Linked DNA regions of Homo sapiens: region 2 is linked to region 1. Evidence: promoter capture Hi-C in 16 types of primary human blood cells and fetal thymus (Javierre and others, 2016). All regions are on one chromosome and are shown on one strand. Each heading gives the region's core, a stretch centred on a gene start or on the middle of the fragment in contact. The rest is flanking DNA. Distances are from core to core; before and after follow the strand shown. Region 1 holds the start of ANKRD50 (ankyrin repeat domain containing 50). Region 2 has its middle 230 kb from the start of LINC02516.

Evidence for each region. The method cuts DNA at HindIII sites, captures the fragments that hold promoters and counts their contacts. A CHiCAGO score of 5 or more calls a contact.
Region 2: a fragment that was not itself captured here is called in contact with the fragment with the promoter of ANKRD50 in region 1 in 1 of 17 cell types (endothelial precursors); the score reaches 9.7 in endothelial precursors.

Annotation. Positions count from the first base shown.
Region 1 is chr4:124,709,644-124,713,981 of GRCh38, forward strand. ANKRD50 (ankyrin repeat domain containing 50) reads right to left here and starts at 3,089. Exons shown (of 5, transcript NM_020337.3): 1 at 2,815-3,089; 2 at 357-1,631. The coding sequence starts at 868. RefSeq lists enhancers at 2,497-3,062, 3,063-3,628 and silencers at 2,576-2,815, 2,966-3,345. The HindIII fragment of the contact is 8,904 bases long and covers 771-4,338 here.
Region 2 is chr4:124,327,437-124,331,872 of GRCh38, forward strand. No RefSeq gene overlaps it. Among named protein-coding and RNA genes, the nearest start is that of LINC02516, 230 kb to the right of the region's middle. The HindIII fragment of the contact is 2,900 bases long and covers 992-3,891 here.

The DNA of each region.
Region 1 (4,338 bases), core at 1,839-4,338:
CTCTAAGTTCAGTTCACCCTCTGAAAATGTAACCTATTTCCAGACAGCTAAATGTGCTTCTCTACCATAAGAACAAATTTCCCTTACCATTTATAGGCAATGTAAGTAACATTATGTTATTAAGTAAAATTAAGATACACTTTTAATCCATTTTAATCCATATGCTGTGCAATACCAAAACCTAAATTTTACTTCCTTTGATATTCAAAGTAAACAGGTATACTCATAACTTCAGATTAAGGCCAAATGTACAGCACCAGTAAAAGTAACCCACAAAGTTAAAACAAAAAACTACAACTAAAAATTAATTTAATTTCAGCATAGAAATCTGAACACCATGACATTTTTATTGTTACCTTTTAAATGCTTCGGCTGGGTTTCTCTCGCACTCCCCAGGCTGTAAGAGGCTTTGGACTGCTGGATCCCTTAGCTTGTCCTCATATCCTTGGAGTAGTCCACTGCGGCAGATCTGGGCTACTAGACCTCTAATAAACCCTCCAACACACAAAGTATCAGAGTCCTGGGCTTTGCAGAAATGAAAGGCCAAAGCTTGGCGATGTAAACCTCTCTGCAAACTTGCAGGTGAACTTGGCCATAAGAGTTCAGTACATAGGGCCGTCTTGCCACTGCCAGGCCCTCCTACCAACAACACACCCCAGGCAGCTCCCTTTCCAGAGACACCACTAGCATTATTCCCAGAATTCATTACAAGTGATGGTGCATTGACAGCACTATTGCAGCAGTTACTTTTCTCCTGGAGGCAATGCTGAAGCTTGTGGAAAACCCACTCCCTACAGTAAAACTGCTTCCCTTGCAGTAAACTGGTTTGAGCCATTTTGCAGACTTTCTCTTCCCAAGGATTAGTCATAACGGGTTTTTTATCTTCATTTGCTAGAGTCTGGATACATCAACACAGGTCTTTCCATCCATTATGACATAACTTGTATATTAAGTTGACTCTGAAGACAGAGTAACTAGTTACAGTAAAATTCAACAGCCACAGAGTTCCTCTGTCAACAGAACGTGCATGACTTTATTTGGTTCCTTATTCTTGATCAGCAGTCTATGTATTAGTTGTTGAACTGAGGGAGAAACGCCTGATTCCACAGCTCAGCAACACTTTTCCTAAATTTTAATGAGTCACATAACTCCATGGTTATAACTGGAGTTTATGTGATTGTGGATGTTTCAAGAACAGAGATGAGACAATACATGTGGAAAACTAAAGAAAAAACCCAATCTTTCAATTTGTACAAAATGCTTCTCCAGATTCCAAGTGTTAATTCTGCATCTGACAATTAGATTCTGAAAAGAGGTCCACTGCATTAAATGGCATCAGAGAGATTACATTTATACGGTATGAGGTACAGTATGTAAGTAGCTCTGTATTTCTCGTTGAAGGATGATCACTCAAGAGTACTAGATCGTGCCAGTTTCAGGCATCTGGGCAACTGCCAGGAACTGTTTCAGATTATAGTCTCTTATGTGGCAGAAATGACAACCACTGTTAACACCTTCTTAATTCAAAGCATTCATAATATGCATTTTTCAAGACAGCAGATTCTTAATGAACCTGTTCACAGGTTTCTTGGTTTTAAGACGTCCGGGTAATCAACAATTTCCACAAGTAACTAAAATAAAACAAACAAAAATACCTCAGTGCAAAATATCATATGTTAAAAACTTATTAAGGACAATAAAGGTTGCAGTGTACCAGTTAACGTAATCTCAAAAATCCACGTACTTCACCTTTGGCACTTTCAAAAAGTTGGACAAAAACCACTGAAATAATCACATTCTCCCTTCTGCATTTTTCTTCCTCATTGTTATGCTTCCCAAACAGCCACATTTTAATCAAGTTACCCAAGATTTTTGCAACTTCACCATAGCAAAGGAGGGGGGGAGAAACTTTACGCACATACAGTAACACCCTTAACTCCAGGCAAAACGCTCATTCACAGTAGACTGGTAGAACAGCGCCAGCTAAGGAAGCTCTATTAACTTACACAGTCCAGTCAGTCAAGGACTGTCTACTCCTCCAGCCACACTTCTTTGTTGATAATGTGCAAAAATCTAGGGGAAGATTACCAGGGTTGCAGCTGGATGGGAAACGGTTTAAAAAAAAAAAACAAAAACGATGGGGGATGACTGTTCTTATAAGAATGATAAAGCAAACACAAGTAAAATGTGAATCCTTCCTTCCTCTGGGCCAAGGATGGAGGTCAGGGATAAAATCTACCAGTCTGGCCGGAGAAAAGGCTGCTAGAGAGAAATTCCTTCCAAGACAGGAAAGGGATAAAGAGTAGAGTGCTTCGGTGCTGGTGGGTGTCTGCCCACAGGTCCGGCCTCCAGTTTCAGCTGACAGACAAAAGGAACTCCGGGATTCCCAGCGCCGGGCACCACCTTGGGTTGGAACCGCCCAGAGGAGCCACAGGGGAGCCACCTCAGAGAGGCCACGAGCGAAGGTGCAGCCTCCACACCGAGGTCTGCCCTTCCAGAGGCTGGGAGCGCCTCTGCACCCCGCCCCGCACCGAGATTGGGGTGTGTCTTTTGAAGGGGGAGGGGGTGACTGAGGTCCTTGCCAATCCCAGACGAGGGGTCGCCTCCCGGTCGGCTTCCGCCTCTGCGCTCCCGCCCCATGCCCCGCTCCCGCTCCCACCCGGCCGACGGCGGTGCGAGGGAAGAGGGCAAATCTGGGGCTCGAGGCCGGAGAGGGTGGGTGGTTGGGTCAGGTCCAAGCCACGGCCTCGGCCTCCCAGCTTCCAACCCGAGGGAGGGGCCTCGCTTCCACCGCCGCCGCCGCCCCCCGGTTACCTCGGCCCCAGCCGCCGCCGTGGCCGCCGCTGCCGCTGTTAGGGACTCTCAGTCTCAGACACTTGCTTCGCTGAGAAGTCGCTGCCAGCAGCGCTCCCAAGACTCCACTCCAACTGCAGCCGCCTCCTCCGCCGGGCCCGGGGCACGCTCCCAGCTCCGGATCCTCCTCTTGGCCCCCGGCGGCTGCCAGTTCCAGCTTTCCCAGCAGAATCGGTCGTGCTCGCCCCAGCCCCCACCGGCCAACCGCCGCCGCCGCCGCCGTCAGGGCAGTAACTGTCTCAGGCAGCCCCCGGCCGGCCGGCTCCGCCCCGCCCGCCCAGCCCAGACCCCGCCCCCGCCCCCGCCCCCGCCCCGCCGCTCGGCCTTTCTTTGCCCGCCGGCTCCGCCTCCGCGTCCTTCCCCTCCCCCACCGCGCTCTCCCGCAGCATCCCGTGCCTGGGCGTGTGCGGCCGCCTGGGACCCGCTGCCGGCGCGGCGGGGAGACCTGTCTCGGGGCGGCGTGGGGGCCCCGCCTTTCTCAGGGGAGGCGGAGAACGGGGCGGGGGCTGCGTTCTCACGTCTCCGAGCTCACGCGAGTCGTTGCCCCCACCCTCCCCGTCACCACTGGGCCCTGATCCTTCCTTTGTCTTCCAGGCCGGAGGGACTCGCCGGCTGTTGGTGCCGTATCTGCTCCTGGGAGGGGCAGTTGGGTAGGGGGAGATTGCCTCTTGCCTCTCTCTGCTCAACCCTTTTGCCTCTCCCTTAACCCCGTTGCTTCCAAAGCCACTTCGGGCCCCGTTCTACCCCTCAGTCGTCCGGTCTCCTTTCAGTCCATTAAATTCCAGGGATGCTTTTACTTTGGCTGGGACGAAGAGAAGGAAGGAAAAGACTGGGAAGAATGTTGCGAAAATAGAAATAGTGGGGGTATACAGCGACATTCCTACCAGCCTCATGAAAAGGACGTGGCCTCCATCAGATGGAGGTTGACAGCAGGCTTGACTGGGTCTCAGGCCCCTGCTCCTCAGGGCCACTTGATCACCCGCAGCGTCCACTAGGGGGGAAGGTCTTGGTCATGTGGCGTCAGGAAATGCCCTAGAGGGCCTGCTCACAGGGGCCTGTTGGACTAAGCATGTCAGTTGTTTGCACTTACTGGACCTGAGTTGCTTAGATTCCAAATTTCTCCCGGGAAAATAAGTATACCGTCAACTGATGGAATAGGAAATGTAGCATTTTTTATTTTAATTGTTTATGCTAAAATCCAGAGTGCTCTATTTCCCATTCCTCATTAACTTGCATGTGGTTATTTGCCAAAATATTAAGCCAGTCTCCCATCTAGTTTTAGAAATTTCATAGTATAGCTATCACAATAAGAAAGATGGATAAACAAATAGATCGTGTTTGTGCTTACTCTTTCATATTGTTTATTCGTGCCAATTGAGGTTTACTGATCTTAGTATTTAATTTTAATTCATGTACCCTGAATTTTGGGCTTCTTTCCTAAAACACAAGCAAAAGAGGCAGAGTATAAATTCTCCAGAATTAGGG
Region 2 (4,436 bases), core at 1,192-3,691, 380 kb before region 1:
CTTCCAAAGAGCCATGGGATTGGAATAATGGCATGATACTTTTTCTTGCAGTAGGAAATACGAAATTAGCCAGAAATGGTGCATTGTTTAAAAGAGAAGAAGGGAGAAGGAGAAGGGAGAGGTGGAAGAGGAGGAGATAATGAAATAAATGGGCACAATGAAGAATCTTCATGAGCAGTGATTGGACAACAAACAAATATGTAAATACATTGTCTCTCTGCCCATTATTCTTAACCTTAATCAGTAAATTACTAAATTGCACATGGGTCCATGAATTTTGTTCTTAATAAATTATTTATACAGACAGAGACCACACAAATATATTTGTCTGGGGCCCCACACACCCTATGGGTAATCTTGAATTCTGTCAACATAGTCAGTGAATACCAACCTCGAAAATAATTTGTAGACTGTTGGTAGTTGGGTGGAGGTGCACAAAAGATTTTAATACAGAAGGTCTTCTATTTAGATAGAAAGGTCCTCAATAGATAGAAAGGAATCTAACCCTTATCACTGCTATGACCTTCCTATAGGTGTTAGTGGTTGTGGGCAGTAAGTTTAGTCTCTGCTATAGTATTGTGTATGCTGTGTTTAATCTTAAGATGTTTTGAAATACTTTACAAACATCACTCCTTCATCAGTGTCTGTTGCAAAGGGAATGAAAGTATTTAAAATGCTAGTAAAAAGAGGCAGGCAAACGATATAAAAATGGGAAGTGGTGAGAGTGTAGGAAAGTGACTGGATGTGAGATGAGACTAGAGGATCAGAACACATTTCACAATGAGCCAATATTATTTCAGGAGTGTGCTTTAAATTATGAATACCCCCAAATATGATTTGTTTCTAAGTATGAGGCCATGAAACCAAATTATCTAACCATATGGGGAGACGTGAATGGGTAAGGATAGGAGTGGGGTGGCAATAGGGATGGTTGAGTGGAGGAAGTAGGGGTCAGGCATCCCTAGGGAAATAATATCTTGCTGAAAATGGAAGCTTTTCTGGGACTACTCAGATGAATTGATATAGATTCCTCTAGTTAAACGTTTCAGCCAGTACAAGAGCCCAGAGAAGAGAGAGAAAAGCATGCTTTCAAATAAACAGAAGATTTCCATATTGAGAGAAAGAGAAAGATAGGAAAGGAGTGAAAAAGCATAAGGCAAGAGACAGGCATAGTCCTATTGCAGATCTAAAGAAACTGGACTATCCTCAGGACAATAGACAGACATTGGAAACTGTTAGCAATGTGTGTTATAAATGATCTCTCTGGTTGCAGAGTGAATGCAGGGGAACAGTTAGGAAGCTGTTCAAAGGTGGTGGCACTGACAATGAAAAATAGACTCTTAGGAGGTATATAGGAGATGGAAGTGGCAGTAGGTTTGATGAGAGAGTCTGAGGAAGAGAGAGTTCCCAGGGATGCTCCCAGGCTTAGCTGCTAAAAGCGCAGCAACACAATTTCCTGAAGGGCAATTATATAGGTGAGGCTGAAGGTGGAGAGGGGGTGGCTCATTGGGAACAGAATAAATTGAGTGCAGGTTGAATATTAGGAGCTTGAGGGGCTTCTGAATGGGAGATGACAGTAGGAAGTTGAAGTTATGTAACTGGAGGATTCATTATGAACTTGGTCTGTTTCCCCAAGGGCAAAAGCATGTTGTTTGTCTCCATTTTCCATCTAGAGAGCAGAACATTGAACCTGGACACATGCTTTCTCAGTTTAAAAATGGCTTCCAAATGCAAAGGAGCAGAAATGCAGTAGTAGCTGATACATACCAAATACAAAGGTCACTTACTTTACAAATTCATTTTGCACCAGGCTGTGCCTCAAAACATAATTCAGAAACTTCAGACATCATGAGCAGAGAAGTTTTACCCAAGAGTGTTCCTCTTGAACTGACAGGAAAGATAAATGACCTTGCTCTTTACAAGCATGGAAGTGTGCTTTCAATGTTTACACAGTGGTGGTGTTCATCTCTATTATCTATGTGTTTTAATATAGCCATTTAGCTGTGAAAATAACCACACAGAAGTGCCAATATAAAATTGATACATTTTTTAATTTATTGAAACACTTGCCCATTTCCAGATGTCTTCCTGTATTTTTGACCTGTTTTATAATCTTGTTGAGGAGGTGTATTCATGCTCAGAGAAACATTGGCTTGAGGAAGAGTGGGGGGTAGCTCAGAAAGGAGAATTTCCCGAAAACCTGTGCATTATCAACATGATTTGGTAAGGTTGTTTGATTTTGAGTTTTTCTTTTCTATTTCTTAATTTAAATGTTAAACATTTAAATCACTTTAAGTCTATAATAGATATCCACAAATATTAACCATTTTATTAATTTAGTAATTCAAGTGCCCTGGAAGACATATGTTCAGATTATCTTAAGAGTTTTCATATTTCAATACATAAGAGGTTAAAAAAAAAGCCTACCAAACTAACACATAAATCTGAGAAGTCTAGTTGTAGGTGTCATGTTTACGTTGCTTTATCTTGGCCTTTGTATAGCTGTGAAAAATGAAGTGTGAACTTTGATGCTTCTGCACGTTACAATCTTTCCAATTCAAATTCAGAGGGGGAATAAAGAGAGAAGGGAACTAATACTATGAAACTGACTATGTCCCAGGGACGTTTGTTTACTTGAGTTTATTACAACAGTACATTGAGCAGGACATTTCTAATCTCATTTTTAGATAAGGAAACTGAATCTCAGAAGAGACATTTGCCAAGAGTCACCTTGCTACGTAAAGGGTAGTAGCACTGGGATCTCCTGTTTTTTGGAAAACTGGCCTGTTTCAAAGTTCAGTTTGATTAAGTGGCACTAAGCATAAGTGACTCCATTCTGGCTTGGTCCATTCTGGTCTACTGGGGCTGAGTGCAGGAGGCTAGTTTAAACCAATGGCCTCCTATAAACTTTAACAACGATTATGTTTCAACTTATACATCTTTTTTAGTGTCTACTGACAAATGACTAACAGAGTGTTACTTTCCTATCTATGTTTTTAAGGTGACTACACCAAACTCTGCAATATTGAAGTGCTTTCTAGATATGCTTGAGAGAGATCTAATAGATAAAGTGTAATAGGAGAGTAGATGAATGGAGTCATTTTCTAAAAAAAGATCAGAAAAATGTAAGTTAAATAACCTTGGTTCAGAGACAAGGGAATGCAGTGAAGGAGATCATGATTCTGATTGAGGGCAACTATCAGTGGATTACAGGAAGAAAGAGAATGCCTGTTTTACCGAGCTTTTAATTTTTAATCAGTTTTATTGAGGTATAGTTTACTTGATACTTTGTCATACTGACTTCCTCTTCCAAGGACAGTGTTTCTTTTACATTCTCCCCTCCACTGCAGAGGGAAGCAGCCTAAATCATTTCTTAAGAAAGAGTGGGTCACTGCTTTTGGACTGGTGGTTTAAAGTGTAGTCACTGGAATAAAGACATAAGCATCAGCTGGAGGCCTCTGAGAAATGCAAATACCCAAACCCCACTCATAGACCTCCTAATTGAAAACTGTGAGGGGTGGGGGCCAGCAATCTGTCTTTTAACAACCCCTCCAGGTGATTCTGATGCACTATCAATTTTAACAACTCCTGCACTGGCAGCTGGCCTTTGACAAGGCTTAGCCAATCTGGAGATGGGCCACAGGAGGGTATATTGCCCAACTTGTCCCGCAGATGCATCATTACTTAGCAAAGCTATTCTCAGCTTCCCAATTTGGGTTCAGAAAACTAGAAGAAATCAACCAGCCATTGGCAGAAAGACAAAGACATTTAGATTGAAGTAGAAAACAAAGGTACAGTAGAGTCATGCCAATAACAGGCCCCTAAAATTCCTGTTGATGAAAGAGTGAGATTGTGTTTCTTCCACATTACTACTTCCATATTCTTATGTCAAGCTTCCATTTCATGGGGTATCTCACAACCAAAATAGTTAAAGCCTCTTGTTCTCTGCAATTTAGAATCTACTTAGAAACAAGTGTTAGTAATTGTTTGAGCCAAGAAGATGGAGAAGGAGCAAAGAAGCAGTGTTCATCTGTATACTGAGAAAATAATGATACAGTGTCCAGAGGGCTCAGATGAACAAAAGCAGTCATTTTGTCTTCTGCCCAACAAGTGAAAAAACATTACAAATCTTAATAACTATGTCGACTAATAATAAATAATATGTATTATGCACTCCCTGGGTTCAGGTTGCTCTTTTATGTGTGTGCACATGTGTTTGTATGTATATACATAAATGTATAGTTTATACGTAAAATACCTCAATTCACTTAAGTCACATAATAATCCATGCATGTTTGGATTAACGCTATACTTGCTTTATAGATTATAGATAATAGCGTTAAGGTAAAGGAAAATTAATTAACTGTCCTGAGTATACACACATAATCTGTTAGACGGTAAGGATTTGGACCACAGCAGCCTGGCACCAGAGCCTG